3 separate regions of the Homo sapiens genome follow, and regions 1 and 2 are each linked to region 3. Evidence: promoter capture Hi-C in 16 types of primary human blood cells and fetal thymus (Javierre and others, 2016). All regions are on one chromosome and are shown on one strand. The core of a region is centred on a gene start or on the middle of the fragment in contact, and the rest is flanking DNA. Distances in the headings are between cores, read along the strand shown. Region 1 has its middle 18 kb from the start of WFDC8. Region 2 holds the start of WFDC8 (WAP four-disulfide core domain 8). Region 3 holds the start of WFDC3 (WAP four-disulfide core domain 3).

Region 1 (2,700 bases), core at 79-2,578, 190 kb before region 3:
GGAACAAAATAGTTCCAGGAGACAGGTGCCATGCTGCTGCTTATTTGGGTTGAAACACACCAGCCTAGATTAGTGTTTCTTTGAACAACTATTAATAATATTTGTTGCTTGGAACAATAGTTGTTAGTTGTAACTAATAAATCTATTGCTTACCCCTGCTATACCCATGGGATACACCCCACCCCACCTTCATCTATCCATTACAAAAAAACTCCTGTGTTCCCACAGAAGTCAAAACAGATATTTCCCCCCCTGGGGAATGCTCCTGATAAAATCCACAGTACTGCAGATGGAGGGCTCCTAGACTTAAAAAGACTCTTCAGGGCACTATGTGAAAATAGAAGAGATCCTCTGACTTGAGACAGAGCAAGAACCTATGGGGAAATTCTAGACTCCAGAAAAGAATCCAGACCTTTTATATCCATTATAAGAGGGAGCAAAAGGAAAAAAGAAAGTACAGAAATTCCAAATTGAACACCAAGTTCACAGTCCAGTGTGATGTCAGAACTGGGGACCAGGCAGAGCACATGATGTCAAAGTAGGAAAACAGGATTTCATTCCTTCTCTTCTTCCCTCTCTGTCAGGGTCCAGAGAGAGCCTGGGCTGGGTCTATTTTCTCCAGGATAAAAATATATATACACTCAAAAGTGTCCCAATTCCTTCTTTTTTTTTTTTTTTTTTTTTTTTTGAGACGGAGTCTCGTGCTGCCACCCAGGCTGGAGTGCAGTGTCGCAATCTCCGCTCACTGCAACTTCCGCCTCCCAGGTTCAAGTGATTGTCTTGCCTCAGCCTCCCAAGTAGCTGGGATTACAAGCATGCACTACCACGCCTGGCTACTTTTTGTATTTTAGTAAAGATGAGGTTTCACCATATTGGTCAGGCTGGTCTCGAACTCCTGGCCTCAGGTGGTCTGCCCGCCTCAGCCTCCTACAGTGCTGGGATTACAGATGTGAGCCACCGTGTCCAGCCCCAATCCTTTCCTGTTTCTCAAGGCCATGTTTACATTTAGCATGCCCCAGGGACCCTACTCTGAACCTCTCACCATCAACTTCCTCTCTACCCTCTCCCCTTAACTCATAGGTACTGACTGTGAGTCCCCTTATGCTTTGTTATCATGCTCTACTCTGGACTCTACTTGTCTATATTATAAAACTTATAATGCTGAAAGGCATGTAGCTACCTTATCCATCTGTGCATGAATACCTAGTCCCTTTTCCTATAGAGAGGTATCAACCCAGGCACACAGTAGCAATTTTATAACCTCCTGTTGATTACTTAATGGAAGTTATTAAATTTTAAAATGAGCCTATTACAGGTTATGTGGATCCTGAAAGAGTAAATGACCACTAGTGGAAATGAAATCAACTAGGCAAAAAGGACAAATCTAATACTTCTTAAACCGAGGAATAGGTAATAGTACCTTTGAGTACTGCTACTTTGAAGGCTATCCTTCCATGAAGGAAATTAAGGACAACTAGAGGAAACAGAGGAATGGTCTTAAGAAAGGAAAAAAGAGGGTAAGGATAAATGGAGAAGCAAGTTGAGGGCACCTGTGGATCAGTTATGGGGATATGCCCATATACGGGTGGTTGCTTCCTACAGATATTGGGTACATGTAGAAGGGAGAGGTCTTTGGGGACCTGGTCGAGAAAAAGTGGCTATGTGATGAGTGGCAGGGATGGGAAGTCAGTGAAGAAGTCAAAGCTCTTGGACAGAAAGAAGAGTCAGGTACGTGGCTTTAATGAGGGAAGCTAAGGGTGCTGGAGATGGAGTAGTAGAAGCAGAAATCCTAGGTCTGCTTGATTGGAATATCAAGGCTGGGATATTCTCTCCCATGGAAGTGGGTCCAGGTGAAGCAAGGAGGTAACCCTGTCTCCCTCTCTTCCTTTCCCATCTCCCACTGATGGATCACAAGGCCAGGTAACCTTGGCCATTTACTTGTCAGTCCAGGCACATCTCTCTCTGGTCAATGTAGAAATCCATATATGAATCCATTTGGAAGTGCCTGAATAATAATCCACCTGTTGGGATTGTGTCAGGGCAGGTAGGTATGTACAACAGGCTGAGGAACCTTGAGAATCTACCCTTTTCAAACTTAACAACCCTTCTAGACTCCAGAATCCATGGATTTAACTGCTTCTTAAGAAAGCGTCCTCTTTGTACTCTCCAAGTCCTGTGTTTGCTTAAACTCACTCCCTTTGCCTGATCTGCTCCTGCAGTCTCCCACAGGATCCACAATGTGCTGGCCTCTAGAGCTTCCCTATTTCCCCTTGGCCAAAATGAAATCTACTTTTATCATCCCAAACTCTAATGAAGTCATCCAGTGAAATCCATACTCATAGAACTCGAGATCCCAAAAGAGCCTGAGAGTTCCTCTAGACTCTCACCCATATCTTATCTCTCCCTGACTCTTATTCTCTCTCTACTGTCAATCACTCACTCCAGTCGTCTTCTAGAGTCCTTCTTTAACCTTCTTTCCAACCTCTTGACCTTTCCACTATTACTAGTGTCATAGCTCATAAGTATCCAGACTTCACCATCTTCTCCCTTTTCTTCAGCACAAAGTGAATGCATTAAGAAATAAGTAATTTTTTTTTCTCCCTTGGAAGTGATCAAAGCTACATACAACTGGTTCTCGAATTCTTTTTTTTTTATACAGAGTCTTGCTCTGTCGCCCAGGCTGGAGTGCAATGGCTCGAT
Region 2 (2,808 bases), core at 177-2,676, 210 kb before region 3:
TTAGCCTGGAGTGGTGGTGCACACCTGTAGTCCCAGCTACTCAGGAGGCTAAGGCAGGAGGATCCCTTGAACCCAGAAGGTGGAGGTTGCAGAGAGCCGAGATCACACCACTATGCTCCAGCCTGGGGGACAGAGAGAGATTCCCTCTCAAACAAAACAAAAAAAATAAAAATAAAAATAAATAAATAAATAAAGTATGTAGAGTTTTATTTAATAATTAACCACACAGATTAAAAAATAGAAAGTAGCCAGCTTCCCAGAAGTCTTCTGTGTGCACCTTCTAATTACCATCTCTGTCATGTGTCTTCAGACAGAAGCACATATAAAAACAAGGTTATGTATTGATCAAATGATGAAAATGTGTGGTCAGAGGCTTGCATTTTCCCTAGGAGCAATGGCTCAGTATTTGCTAATCCGGTGTTCACAGTGACTTTACAGAACATAACTACCCCCAAGTAATGGGAATCAACTGTATTTTTATTACTTTGGTGTACAAAGAACTTTGAGCTCTCCATGGCTTGCCACAACAAAAGACTTCCTAGGCAAATTGTCTACTGCTTTGTTCCAAGTGGGGGCTCTACTTGAGGCTGTGGGACCAAGACAAAAGAAGCAGCCTCTATGTGGATTAGGCCCCTTCTCCTGGCAGAGAGAAAGCACAAAGGAGCTGGCAGAAACTCACAGTGCAAAACTCACTATGCATATGCTACATCTGCTCATACTCCAATAGGCAAAGCACAGCTGACAGCAAACCCAAAGTCAATGAGACAGAAATGTGTCTTCCTTCCACGGGCCGTTCTAAAATTGCAAGGTAATGGACAGGAGTGTCCTCTTAAAGGAAAGATGGAATGAATAGTTGTGAATAATAATATAACCCATCACTACTACTCCTGTTTTAATTTTTTGAAAATGTTTAGATACATATTATATGCTTGTTTAATTTAAAATATCAAACTTTACCTTGCTCAGGCTCTGCCCCTCCACACTGGGCCACTCAAAGATGCCCAACTTACCCTACTTGGGCTCCAACAGCCATATCAGGTTGCATTCGAGACCAGCCTGGCCAACATGGTGAAACCCCGTCTCTACTAAAAATGCAAAACTTAGCCGAGCGTGGTGGCGCACACCTGTAGTCCCAGCTACTAGGGAGGCTAAGGCAGGAGAATCGCTGGATGCATTGATGCCCTCTTCACCCTGCTTAGGCTCTGATTCCTGACACAAGACAGCTCTGTTCTGTGGAACCCCTCCTCACTATGCTTGGCCCAACTCCCCACAGCCGACCACTCTAACTTCTATGTATCCTCCTCATCTCCTTGGGCTCAGACCCTCCATGTCTGGCTACCCACCCCCATAGACACCCTCCTCACCCTCCTTCAGTTCGGACAGTCCACATCAGGCCTCTTCCCTATGGAGACAGCTTCCTCACTTTGCTCCAGCTCTAAGGCTCCTCCCTCATCTGCTCCCCTGCCTGGACACTCTGCTCACCCCACTCAGGCTCTCATTCTATGCCAGTCTGCCCCTCTAGCCCCAGGGGGATGCCTTTCTCAACATGGGCAGGCTGGTCTCCATGCTATGCTGCTTCTTGCCTCTTCACTGGGCATTCTCATCTACCCCTGGCTCCAGCACACCAGGCCAGCAGCCCTCCTACAGAGACACCCTCCTTGACCTGTTCCAGCTCTGATGCCCACACGGAGCCAGCCGTGGCTCCCTTCCCCTTGGGGCAAACGCCTACCTTGCTAAATGTGCCTATCTAATGGCTTTAGGACTGACTAGTTCAGTTAGTAAAGAAAAGGAGACAAAACAAGGAAGAGCTACTTTTCCTTTTTGTAAAAATATGTATTGTGAAAAACACCACAAAAATAAAAATATGCATGAAACATTAATGTTCAGTCTAACGAACTATTACGAAGTGACCACTCATTAAACTATCACTGAAATCAAGTAAAAAATTTCCAACACTTTCTGCTCCTTTTTCATTCTTTTCCAGTCACAACCCCTTCCTATGCTCTCAAAGGCAGCTAATGGTAGTGACTTTCTTTTTCATATTTTCAAGATCATATGTATTCCCCTAAATATGTTTTTGTTTTTGTCTGCTTCTGTTCTATATCAATGGAGTCACTTGGAATGTATTCTTTTGTGCCTGGCTTTTTGTGTTCAACATTATATTAATGAATTCCATCCACATTGTTTTGTGTAGCTGTATTTTGTCAATTTTCATTGCCATGCCATCTATTGTATGACTACACACATCTCTACTGAGTTGTTTATAGTTTGCAGCTGTTAAGAATAAAGCTGCTGTGTGTATACATAGCATGTATGTAATAACGTTCTGCACGTGTATCCCAGAACTTAAAGTATAATAAAAAACTAGGATTTTCTAAATAAAAATGTTATTTATATCAACATGTAATAAGTTTATTACGTTAAATGAATTAATAAATGTTTTTAAATGTCAAAAAAATTTTAAACAATTTACTCATGTAAAAAAAAGAATAAAGCTGCTATGAACACTCTGTGTGCATTTGCTGGAGCACGTGGGCAGGTGTTCTTGTAGGTTATACATTCAGCATAGGGAATGATGGGTTACAGGGTATGCATATCTTCAGCTTCTCAAGCTGATACCAAATTATTTCCCAAAGAGTTTGTACCAATTCACAGCCTTGCCATTGGTAGTTGAGAGTTCCTATTGTTCCATAACCATGCTGTATGTAGAACTGTCACAATCTTTTCATTTTTACCATCCTGCTACGAGTATGGAAATACATCACTGTGGACTTAATTTAAATTTCTTGACTACTAATGAGGTTGAGC
Region 3 (2,700 bases), core at 191-2,690:
AAGAAAATACAGAATGGAACAGACCACTCAGAAACTATCAAATAGGCCAAGGCGGGCAGATCACCTGAGGTCAGGAGTTTGAGACCAGCCTGGCCAACATGGCGAAACCCTGTCTCTACTAAAAATACAAAAATCAGCTGGGCATGCTGGTGCATGCCTGTAATCCCAGCTACGTGGGAGGCTGAGGCAGGAGAATAGCTTGAACCCAGGAGGCAGAGGTTGCAGTGAGTGGAGATCATGCCACTGCACTCCAGCTTGGGTAACAGAGTGAGACTCTGTCTCAAAAAAAAAAAAAAGAGAGAAAAGAAACTATCAAAAACCTACAGAAAAGCAGTAGTTGAGTTTGTTAAGAACTAATGAAAAGCACCAAACACCTACATCTTTGTCCCTCTAACCCACACAGGCCATTCTTGGACTGTATGAAGTCTAGCTGGCAGAACCCAAGAGAAGTTGCTATGTATGACTCAAATAGTCTGCCCACATATACCTCCTTTATTTCTTTTTTCTCCATTTCTTTTTTTCTTTATCTGTCCTGGTCATGCCTTTGGTTAGCTGTGATACCTAATGGTGTCCACTGGCACTGCTTAGTCCTATGGGCAGGTACAAGGTAAAACCTCCTTAATAGGATCAAAAAGTTTGGAGCCAGGAAGTCGCCCTTATGGTTAGAAGGCTGATGTTGGCTCATGGAGATAATTAACATTTGATGATGACCTCATATGTGCCTAATATGCTTTTTTTTTTTTTTTTTTTTTTTTTTTTGAGACAGAGTCTCCCTCTGTCCCCCAGGCTGGAATGCAGTGGCGCGATCTCGGCATAATTAACATTTGATGATGACCTAACATGTGCCTAATGTGCTTTTTTTTTTTTTTTTTTTGAGACAGTCTCCCTCTGTCGCCCAGGCTGGAGTGCAGTGGCGTGATCTCGGCTCACTGCAACCTCCGCCTCCTGGGTTCAAGAGACTCTCCTGCCTCAGCCTCCCGAGTAGCTGGGATTACAGGTGCCCACCACCACGCCCGGCTAATTTTTATATTTTTAGTAGAGACGGGGTTTCGCCATGTTGGCCAGGCTGGTCTCGAACTCCTGATGGCAAGTGATCCTCCCGCCTCGGCCTCCCAAAGTGCTGGGATTACAGGCGTGAGCCACCGCCCCTGGCCGAGCATATTAAAATCTAGTTTTCAAAAACTGAACTGCAGGCGCCGCTGTACCAAACGCTTCCCTCTGCTCCCCAACCCCAGCCTACAGAAAACTGGTCCCTTCCTCCTACCCCGCAGTCATCCCCAGGCCTTGGCCCAGCGGGAAACATCCCTTGACTGAACCGCCACTGAACACCCACACTGCACAATCGAGGCGCAGCCCTCCCGAGAGGAAGCCCCAACGACCTCCACCTACAAGGCCTCTAAGTGTAACTGTCCTGGGCGAGGCGCGGCGGTTCGGTTCCCATGGTAACCCCGCAGCTCCAGCGTCGCGCTTCCGGGCGGACGAGCAGCGCGCTCCAGTGACGTCACGGCGCCACTTTCCGGCCGGTGACAGAGTCCAGCGGAGTTGTGGGGGCCGGGGGCGCCATGGGAGCCACTGGCGACGCCGAGCAGCCGCGGGGACCTAGCGGGGCCGAGAGGGGCGGCTTGGAGCTGGGGGATGCGGGCGCAGCGGGGCAGCTGGTTCTTACGGTGAGGGCGCCCCCGGTGAGGTCTGGGCTCAGGCCGGGCACGGCCTCGGGGCTCCTGGGACCCTGGCCCGCGGGCGAGAGAACGCGGAGGCTGGAGCTGCAGAGGGGGTTGGCGTTTTCGCAGCCCGACGACCTGGATTTAAATTCTGGTGCCGCCCTCCTAGCTAGGTGACGTGGGCCATCTCTGTCAACCCCCTGAGTCCCAGGATCCTCTTCTATAAAATGGAAATGATTAGTACCTGTCTCATAAAACTTGTTGTGGGATGGGAAGATAAAGGCGGGTACAACGCCCCGGACATCACCTGACACAGAGTTGACCCTCGGTAAATACTGCTTCCCTTCCTCCTGCCGTGCCAGAAGGCAGGGTCGGGACTTTTAAGGCAGGAAACTTCCTCAGTTCCTCTTTTGTGGAGGAGGCCTTACAACTATCGTCCCACCCCAAGGCGGGAGAGATGGTGACGGATCTGAGAAGCAGGGATGTCCAGGTTTAACTTCATACCCACCCTCCACCTCCACCCCACCCCAGTGTCACAGGCCGCAGTGACATTTGTTCCGTTGGTCCCCACAGAACCCTTGGAACATAATGATAAAGCACCGGCAGGTGCAGCGGAGGGGCCGCCGCTCACAGATGACAACAAGGTAAGGCTGGCCCTGCATGGGGCTTATATCCCAGCCACTGGCTTGCATGGCAGATTTGGGATCCCCAGTGCACAAGGCTATGGAGATCTACAGCCGGTAGAAAGAGCACAGGACTGAGGAAGAGGAGACTCCGATTCTGTAACTCTGTGTGATCTTGAACTAGTCAAGTCACTTCCTTCTCTGAACTCACGTACAAAATGGGGAAGGGCACAGGAGATGGGTTGTGGAATAAACAATACCTAAGATCCCTCACATTCACTGGCTCTGTGGTTGAGGGCTCTAAAGAGGTCAGTTAGCATGGAGTTTAAGAGAACAGGCTCTGGAGTCAGACAACTGTGTTCTCATCAACAGACTCTGATGAGCCCGTTTTCTCAACTATAAAGAGGGATTAATAG

Evidence for each region. Contacts are between HindIII fragments. The CHiCAGO score rates a contact against its expected background, and 5 or more counts as called.
Region 1: a contact is called between a fragment that was not itself captured here and the fragment with the promoter of WFDC3 in region 3, in 3 of 17 cell types (M2 macrophages, M1 macrophages and M0 macrophages). The highest score is 7.5, in M2 macrophages.
Region 2: the fragment with the promoter of WFDC8 here is called in contact with the fragment with the promoter of WFDC3 in region 3 in 3 of 17 cell types (M2 macrophages, M0 macrophages and M1 macrophages); the score reaches 6.3 in M2 macrophages.

Annotation. Positions count from the first base shown.
Region 1 is chr20:45,596,431-45,599,130 of GRCh38, forward strand. No RefSeq gene overlaps it. Among named protein-coding and RNA genes, the nearest start is that of WFDC8, 18 kb to the left of the region's middle. The HindIII fragment of the contact is 3,481 bases long and covers 1-2,700 here.
Region 2 is chr20:45,577,858-45,580,665 of GRCh38, forward strand. WFDC8 (WAP four-disulfide core domain 8) reads right to left here and starts at 1,427. Exons shown (of 6, transcript NM_130896.3): 1 at 1,365-1,427. The coding sequence starts at 1,390. RefSeq lists an enhancer at 242-1,177. The HindIII fragment of the contact is 6,723 bases long and covers 1-2,808 here.
Region 3 is chr20:45,790,443-45,793,142 of GRCh38, forward strand. It overlaps WFDC3 (WAP four-disulfide core domain 3), which reads right to left and starts at 1,441. Exons shown (of 7, transcript NM_080614.2): 1 at 1,390-1,441. It overlaps DNTTIP1 (deoxynucleotidyltransferase terminal interacting protein 1), which reads left to right and starts at 1,512. Exons shown (of 13, transcript NM_052951.3): 1 at 1,512-1,667; 2 at 2,235-2,305. The coding sequence starts at 1,563. RefSeq lists silencers at 1,595-1,864, 2,075-2,214. The HindIII fragment of the contact is 10,060 bases long and covers 1-2,700 here.